Linked DNA regions of Homo sapiens: all the other regions are linked to region 1. Evidence: promoter capture Hi-C in 16 types of primary human blood cells and fetal thymus (Javierre and others, 2016). All regions are on one chromosome and are shown on one strand. Each heading gives the region's core, a stretch centred on a gene start or on the middle of the fragment in contact. The rest is flanking DNA. Distances are from core to core; before and after follow the strand shown. Region 1 holds the start of KLHL6-AS1 (KLHL6 antisense RNA 1). Region 2 holds the start of ABCC5-AS1 (ABCC5 antisense RNA 1). Region 3 holds the start of B3GNT5 (UDP-GlcNAc:betaGal beta-1,3-N-acetylglucosaminyltransferase 5).

Evidence for each region. Contacts are between HindIII fragments. The CHiCAGO score rates a contact against its expected background, and 5 or more counts as called.
Region 2: a contact is called between the fragment with the promoter of ABCC5-AS1 here and the fragment with the promoter of KLHL6-AS1 in region 1, in 6 of 17 cell types (M0 macrophages, erythroblasts, megakaryocytes and 3 more). The highest score is 8.6, in M0 macrophages.
Region 3: a contact is called between the fragment with the promoter of B3GNT5 here and the fragment with the promoter of KLHL6-AS1 in region 1, in 2 of 17 cell types (M2 macrophages and activated CD4 T cells). The highest score is 6.6, in M2 macrophages.

What each region holds. Positions count from the first base shown.
Region 1 is chr3:183,547,324-183,550,115 of GRCh38, reverse strand. KLHL6-AS1 (KLHL6 antisense RNA 1) reads right to left here and starts at 1,381. Exons shown (of 2, transcript NR_046687.1): 1 at 1,153-1,381. The region is part of intron 1 of KLHL6 (kelch like family member 6); the gene reads left to right. The HindIII fragment of the contact is 1,687 bases long and covers 22-1,708 here.
Region 2 is chr3:184,004,873-184,007,664 of GRCh38, reverse strand. It overlaps ABCC5-AS1 (ABCC5 antisense RNA 1), which reads right to left and starts at 1,327. Exons shown (of 3, transcript NR_046570.1): 1 at 1,204-1,327. All of the region lies in intron 2 of ABCC5 (ATP binding cassette subfamily C member 5), which reads left to right. RefSeq lists a silencer at 599-648. The HindIII fragment of the contact is 257 bases long and covers 1,137-1,393 here.
Region 3 is chr3:183,251,877-183,254,668 of GRCh38, reverse strand. It overlaps B3GNT5 (UDP-GlcNAc:betaGal beta-1,3-N-acetylglucosaminyltransferase 5), which reads right to left and starts at 1,416. Exons shown (of 2, transcript NM_032047.5): 1 at 1,197-1,416. The region is part of intron 15 of MCF2L2 (MCF.2 cell line derived transforming sequence-like 2); the gene reads left to right. It overlaps LOC124906310 (a long non-coding RNA gene), which reads right to left. Exons shown (of 3, transcript XR_007096189.1): 3 at 2,114-2,134. The HindIII fragment of the contact is 12,746 bases long and covers 1-1,938 here.

The sequences.
Region 1 (2,792 bases), core at 132-2,631:
TCTTGTTTTATGTATGAAGCTTCCTTTTTATAACATCCTGTTCTTGTTTTGTATAGGTCATATTTTCACTTAATCTCTTTGAGGTTTATATTTTTTAAAAAACCACTCTTCTGTTTTTGTTTGTTTTTTACTGTTTGTTTTCACTGTATTTTTCTCTTTGTTTTTGTCTCTTTTATTCTATTTTATGTATGTATTTATTTATTTCCTAGAGACAAGGTCTCCCTATGTTGCCCAGATAGTTTCAAACTCCTGGGCTCAAGGGATCCTCCTGACCCGGCCTCCCAAAGTGCTAGGATTACAAGCATGAGCCACCACACCTGGCCTCTGTCTTTTATTTTAGAGGCTATACTTAAATATCTGGTAGTCTTTGGATATCTGTTCCTATTTAAGAGTCAAGCACTAACATGGTGAAACCCCATCTCTACTAAAAATACAAAAAATTAGCTGGGCGTGGTGGCACATGCCTGTAGTCCCAGCTACTCGGGAGGCTGAAGCAGGAGAATTGCTTGAATCTGGGAGGCGGAGGTTGCAGTGAGCCAAGATCATGCCACTGCACTCCAGCCGGGGCAACAGAGCAAGACTCAGGTGTCCCGACCTGACGAGTGCCATTCAAGTTGGATTTAGCCATGAAATAAGTTACAAAAAACTTTACATTTATCAGCACTTTGGGAATTTTGAAACTACAGATAAGGGATTATAGATATATAATGCTGAAATATTTACTATCATATTGGTTCTGATCCACAATATTGGAAAATATTAAAAGTGGAAAATATAGGGCCTGACCCTGGTGTTACAATCATTGGCTTCACTTGAGTTCTCAAGTGTACCCACTGTGGCAGCAGCAATCCTCAACACATTTGCTGTTAGCCAGATTTTTAATACAGACCTACATGGCCTTAACTCATTCTTGTTTTTCTTGGCACTTATTCTCTTTTTTAAAATTTGTTTAAATTTTACTTTAAGTTCTGGGATACATGTGCAGAATGCGCGGGTTTGTTACATAGGTATACACGTGCCATGGTGGTTTGCTGCACCTATCAACCCATCATCTAGGTTTTAGGCCCTGAATGCATTAAGTATTTTTCCTAATGCTCTCCCTCCCCTTGTCCCCCACCCGCCGACAGGCCACGGGTTGTGTTGTTCCCCTACCTGTGTCCATGTGTTCTCATTGTTCAACTCCCACTTATGAGTGAGAACATGCGGTGTTTGGTTTTCTGTTGCTGTGTTAGTTTGCTGAGAATGATGGTTTCCAGCTTCATCCATGTCCCTGCAAAGGACATGAACTCATTCCTTTTTATGGCTGCACAGTATTCCATGGTGTATATGTTCTTGGCACTTATTCTATCACCTGGGCTTTCTGACTCTTTTCTGACATCTTACCCCATTATGGAGACAAAGCTCAGGATTACAACATCTACATGTGGCTTAAGAGTAGTCTCTTGCCCCACTTTTCTGCCATGCAGTAATTGGTTAATATGTAATAATGATTAACAAGTGCATAGATTGTGCTCACAATAACCTTCCCATTCCTGGCCTTATGCCTGATTTTTGTAGCTGGCGGGTAAAGTCCTCTCAACATAGCCTCAAGGAACCAGACCTAGAGACTGCGGTACAAGACAGGAGTGAGACAGGAATCCAGACAAGGATTCCAGGCAGCAGCATCAACAAAGGAGATTGCTAATGACTCAGCCTCAGCCTGGAAGCTTTTCTATGCATGAAGGAAGGGCCAGTCATGAGACAGGGCAGAGAAAAGCCTGATAACCCCTCCCCTCATCACTAGGACTCCCCTCCCTCTGCCAACCCTGGGAATCACAGCAGGGCTGCCCTCACAGGTCACTGTCACTTACAGAGTGTGCCATATTTTGCAGTGAGCTGGGCTTCCCAAATGGTGAGAACCAGTTTCTGGTTCTAGCCACAGTGAGGTCCCATATATTTTCAGAGCGCACTGTCTTTTCACCTTGCACACCCTGACCCTGCTTCCTTGTCTCTTTTTTAACCCTTTGATCCAGACTGATGTCCTAAGGCATGCTGGGTCCTTGCTGCTATGGGGGTCTGTCAGCTCAGCCCCCAGACATAAACTGGAATGAATGTTCCAACAGTATCCTGCCTGTGCATGTGTGTATGAGCACAAGGAGGCTCTGATTTTTACATTTCCTCCTCATTTTCAGCTTATGTAGCCTACACTAGCAAAAGAGTCTTGGGGAGCTGAGGGGTCATAGGAAATGACCTGTTAGCCACATTTCTGTTCTCTGTGAAGAGGCCTGTTTTCAGTTTAGACATCATGGGGAAACCACTCTTCCCATCAAAGTGAGCTCCCCCAAGGATGAAATGGACACCATGCTATCTACTTGATATTATGAAGACTGAATGAAATAAAAAGAATCCAGCAAAGTGCCTGAAAAAATGTAGGCCGTCCATATTCCAAACTGGGAAAAAATGCTTAATGCAAAGATTACCACGTCACGTATAAAAACAAAATACTGGAAGCAACCTAAATGTCCACAGTGAGAGAATGATTTTCATATTATGCCTCTGTTGAAATTGGTAGCAATATAATAAATAGTCATTATGAAAAGCATGGAGCACCGTAGGAAAAATATTATAATGAAAACAGGGGGCAAAGCAAGATGCAAAATTGCATGTAAACTATGGAAAGATATGCATGTGAGAAAAGGTAGACAAATAACACCAAAATGAAAACTGTTAACATTATCAGAAAGCCCCATAATCCCTTACCCAAAAATCTGGGAGCCAGATGTGCTTTGCCATTCAGAATTCTTTGGATATTA
Region 2 (2,792 bases), core at 78-2,577, 460 kb before region 1:
TAGTAGAGATGGGGTTTCACCATGTTAGCCAGGCTGGTCTTGAACTCCTGACCTCAGGTGATCCCTCCGCCTCAGCCTCTCAAAGTGCTGGGATTACAGGTGTGAGCCACTGCGCCTGGGCATGTGTGTTCTTGAATAATAAGCCAAGGAGTTTGGATTTTAATTGCTTTAAATTAATATTTAAGCAAAAGCAAGACAAAGCTTGTCAGATGCTTTTATGAGCTTTATTTTATTGTGGTGGTGGTTTGTTTTCTTAGTGCTCTCAGGCAAAGGTAAGGGTGCCTTGTTTTTCATTAGCATGTCTAATCTGGGAAAGAAGGAAGAATGGAAAAATAAGCAGAAGTGGGCCGGGCGTGGTGGCTCACGCCTGTAATCTCAGCACTTTGGGAGGCCGAGGCGGGCAGATCACAAGGTCAGGAGATTGAGACCATCCTGGCTAACATGGTGAAACCCTGCCTCTACTAAAAATACAAAAAATTAGCTGGGCATGGTGGCATGCACCTGTAGTCCCAGCTACTCGGGAGACTGAGGCAGGAGAATCGCTTGAACCCGGGAGCCAGAGTTTGCAGTGAGCCGAGATCGCACCACTGCACTCCAGCCTGGGGAACAGCAAGACTCTGTCTCAAAAAAAAAAAAAAAAAAAAAAAAGCAGAAGTAAACTAAAGTTCATGTACCATTATTACTGGCACATGAACTTTAGTTATTTTTTCCCCTTCTCTCAAAAGTGTGTCATTGGTGGGATTTTCTTCCTACCAAATTAGAATATCCTGTGTCTAGGAAAGGTAACAAAGCAAGTATTCATAAAATCCAGGGCTCTTACTTAGTATTTCCTTAGTTCTGTGGTAGGCTGACCCTTTAATCTTGGTTGGAGTTTTCATAATTAATGCTTTGAAATATTTTGGTGAGCTCAAGTTGTATCTTAGGGATCAAAGATGTGGGTCTAATCTCTTACCAGAAATGATTCGAAGATGTATTGTTAGGAAAGAAATATGGGCTCATTATAGAAAATGTACAAAGTGTGTAAAGTTGTAGAAAAAAAGTAACCACCCTTAATTCCTCTACCCAGAGACAGCCATTGTTTTCATAAAATAGTTTTGTCTAGTACATTGTACTTTTAGAGTTTGCTCCTGAAAGCTTTTCTTTACAGACTAAGGACGTGTGAATTTGTCTATGCCCTTGTGTTTTCCAAGTCAAGAGTATTACCTGTGAGTCGGCTTGCTGTTAGGAAGGAGAGCAGGAGGAAGGAGATTAGCATTTTGCAGCTCTGCATTATTTTTCTCTTGATTGATACTCGGTGACTCAGCAGATTTTCTGGACAGGGTTAAGATAAGTAAGAATACCTGCCTTTTTTTTTTTTTTTTTTTCTTCTCTCCCTGTAGGCATCCATAAAGCTTTATGAGGCACAGTAGTCTCTTAGGCGCTGCTGGGTGTGACACCGTATCTGGTCTGGTGCCAGGTGTTGGTCTCCAATAGCAGCCCAGAGATCTCCGGCTGAGGTAACAACAGTGTGCGATTGGTGTGGAGCCCAGGTGGCTCTCATGCTTGGTAACTGCATTGACAGCTCGCTGGGGCTCTTGAGGTTGGGCTGCTGCCGGGATCATCAGCTCTCTTATGCCGTTTGCTGCAAGACTGCCGCGGCTTTCCTAGGAAGTGCTGCTTAAGGGAAATAAATATAGCCTGTTGGCATGAGTTAAAGGAACTTTCTGTCAAAGGGGAAGAAAAGTGTTGGAATTAGCTTCCTGTTTTTTTTTTTTTTAAGTACCTAAATCTTTATTTGGTTAAGATAACTTGGAAGTTACAAATGGTTAATGAAAACTTTTTCAATGAAATATTGTTTCCACAGTTAGGTGGGTTTCCGTTAATGCTTTCTTTTTTTTAGTTATTATTATACTTTAAGTTCTAGGGTACATGTACACAACGTGCAGGTTTGTTACATATGTATACGTGTGCCATGGTGGTGGGCTGCACCCATTAACTCGTCATTTACATTAGGTATATCTCCTAATGCTATCCCTCCCCCCTCCCTGTTCATGCTTTTTTTAATGTCTTACCGTTTTTCCCTCTCTTTTAGTCAAAAATAAAAAGGTCAACGCAAAGAAACAGGGACTCCAGAAGGCTTTGCAATGGTTAAACCTGTCATTATTAAACTCACAGACTAATGTGAAGTTAATTTGGTGCACTGAAGTCCACTAATGAGCAGAATTAAATTTATCCTTTTCCTCCCTGCCCCCCTTTTAAGGAGTTAGCCTATTTAGATAATTAGATGTTATATATGTTTTAACTATTTAAGATTATTTTATGAATTAGCTGTTCAAAGAATCAATTGTTACTAGATATCAGATGAGAACTTCCACTTACCAAAGCCTGCTCATGGAGGTAGAAAGCAAGACTGACATGTGTACTTTAAAAGATGGATGGAACCTCAAAGGCCGTCTTGCCCAGTCCCCATTTAGCCTCACCTCTCTGTAGGTGAGGCCCAGGAGAGACACTTACTAGGCAGACTATGCTGGGGCTGGGTGAGCTTCCCAAGGATGTTCTTTCTGGAATTCGGTGGCTCAGAATACAGCACTTGGCTCCTCTTTGAAGCATGATGGCTCTGTTGCCTGTCTCTGGCCCAGTGTGCTGGGCTGCTGAAAAGAGCATGGAACCACCCAGGAGACGCCACGACACTGACAGCTGTACCTGACCTGAGGGTTCAGGATATGTTTTCAAAAGCAAATCTCGCTAAAAAGGATTTGTATGTTATTATGAAATCTATATTTATGTGGTGGAAATAGACACACTCAGGCTTT
Region 3 (2,792 bases), core at 167-2,666, 300 kb after region 1:
CCTGGGGCCCCCGGCCGGCAACCGAATTGGTGGGCGCGGCGTTCGCCTCGCGGCTCCCGCGCACGGGCCTGTCCCGCCACCGAGGAGCCGGAGCTCCTCAGGGACGGGGACCCGCAGGCCCCGGGAAGCCGCCCCAACCGGAGCTGCCCGGCCCCCGAGCCTACCTGCCGCACCTGGGCGGCGGCCCGGCCTGGGTCCCAGCCGCTGGCCACCCGCGCGGGCAGGCCGGAGGGAACAAAGGCGTTCCGGGGAGGGGACGAGCCTCCTTCTCCGCCGCGCTTTCAGAGGGCGGGCTGCCGGGGCCCGCGGTGGGAGAGGCCTCCCCGGCTTCCCGACTTCCCGGCGCTGGGCCGTGCGCGGTCCGGGCCAGGGCGGCGGGCCCCGATCCGGTGTCCACGCCAGCCACGCGCCCCCGGCCCAAGCGCGCGTTCCCACCTGAAGTCCTGGCGCCACCCGCCGGGCGAGGGCCGGCGTGCCCTCACCTCCTCGCCACTCTTCTCCTCCAGAGACCTCGCTCGGCCCGGAGTGGGCAGACTCGGAGCCTCCCGCGCCGGAGACCGCGAGCCGCTCGGCCGAGGAGGCGCGGCGGGGCGGGGGCGGGGCGGAGGGGCCGGCCCGCAGCCCCCAATGCCGGGAGCCCGCGCTGGAGACCCAGGGAGCCCAGCTCGGGGCCGCGGCACGGAGAACGAACCATCCGTGGCCTGGAGACGTATCCCGCCGAGCGGCCAGAACTTTCCCCATTTAGCGATCCGGAAAGGAAGCCAACACTCCCACCCAGAGAGGCCTCGGCCGCGGAAAGATGCGGCCGCGGCACAGCCGTGTTTTCACCACGTAACTGACCACAGACTAACTCCGCGCGGAACCACCGGCCCAGGGCGCTCCGCCAAGAGGCGGACTGTGCTGGCCTCGCGGGCCCTACGCCCAGGGAACGCCGCGGTTCCTCCCACACGGGACACCGGTTCCGCAGCGCCGCGGATTAGGATGGTCTTTTACTTTCCGAGCGGGAGCTCTAACGCAGGCTCAGGCGGGTCTTGTTAAAAGGTTTCTGGTCACACCACTTATGCGTGGAGCTCTGGGGGCCTCAGTAACAAAGTAAGGAAACTTACAGCAAACTAGGGCTGCACTGCCGCTGTCCGTTTCTAAAATACGAGAAGAGGGGGAAACCCCGCCCCAGGCCAGCTTCCCAGTGACTTTACCTCCAAGTCCAGCTTCATTTCAAGGGCAGTTTAGAGCGAAACTCACGAAGTTCAAGCCCAGCTCTTTAAATGTCCAAATCGGAGGTCGGCTTTCCTTCCCGCATCGGAGCTAAAGTCGCTGGTCTCAAGAACAAAACTTGCGGGCTTTAAATCTTGGGCGAGGACTGGACGGGCAGCGCTGGACTGGGCTCGCTTCCCCGGCGGGATGCGGGCTGTATGCGGGCGGGATGGGGGCGGGCCCGGGCGGGGGCGCGAGGCTCCCAGCCGCGCGCCCCGCACTCTCGGCGTCACGGCCCGAGCCCGGCCCCGCCCGCCAGCCGCCACCCTCCCGGCGCGTAGGTGAAGGTGATGGGCCCCGCCCCAGTTTGTTCTTGTCTGTAGATGAGAATTCCAGGAAGTGTTTCCCTGCCGCTCGTCAGTTAATTGCGATCACTTACTCAAATGGCCAACTGGAAGCCAGAGTGCACATGAATGTCCTCTTTGAGCTATTTTCCTCCTTTAGAATACTTCATGCAGGTAACCAGACAATATCGAGAGATGCGGACTTCTACTCAACGAGAGAGATTATAAATGAATCCTGGATGCGCTTGATTTCTTGTTTCCCGCATGTTGTTAGACCTCTCCCTAAAGCCACAAAACATTTAACGGAGATAATATTTTGAGCGATTCTGTTATTGTACATATTTCAGAACATGACAGAAAAGCAAAAGATTAACCCAAATACTTTAGTAAAATAAAAGCTTTGAGTTTGTCGTAAAAGGAACAAGACAGGTAATGAGTTAAATGTATGATTGTCGAATCAGGGTTTAAAACAGTGGGGCCAGCAGACACGGTGGCTCACACCTGTAATCCCATCACTTTGGGAGGCTGAGCCGCAGGAGGATTGCTTGATCCCAGGAGTTAGAGACCAGCGTGGCCAACATAGCAAGACCCCATCTCTAAAAGAAAAAACACACACACAAAATGAAAACTGTTGTTCATTCAAACTAGATTTTTAGGAAGTTTTTAAATTGCTTTCCTTAAGCTGGTCAGCATCTTTTAAATCATGCAGTTCTTTTCATATGCTGCCTACACAGGGCATGGCTCAGCATCTCCCAGACTGTGGCACTGCATGTTCATCAGACCACAGACAGAAATATTTACATGTGTGATTTGCAAAGGAGTCATTGACAGTGACCCACAAATAAGCTGATTCATTGTTAATACAGCACTAATGACATACCTTCTCTAATAAAATGCTGACTGAAATCCCACATGCATTTCCCCCAGCCATCACATGTGTATGTTGTATATCTGTGCAAATATTCAATTACAATTATATTCCTTTCAGATCATTTGGAGCTAGGTCCATGTGTCAGTATACATATGTTCCACATACATGAGCACATAGAACTGTACCCACGAGAAATACAAACTGACCAAAACAGTGGTAGACACACATACAAATCACATATTCACATCATACTAGATACAGATAAACACACCAGATAGATAAATGGTTTCAAAAGTATGTCTGGAGATTGGAAATACGATGCAAGTTTTTTGGTGGTAGGAGGGAGAGATGAGAGGGTGTGAAGGAGAGATAGGCAAGGTCAA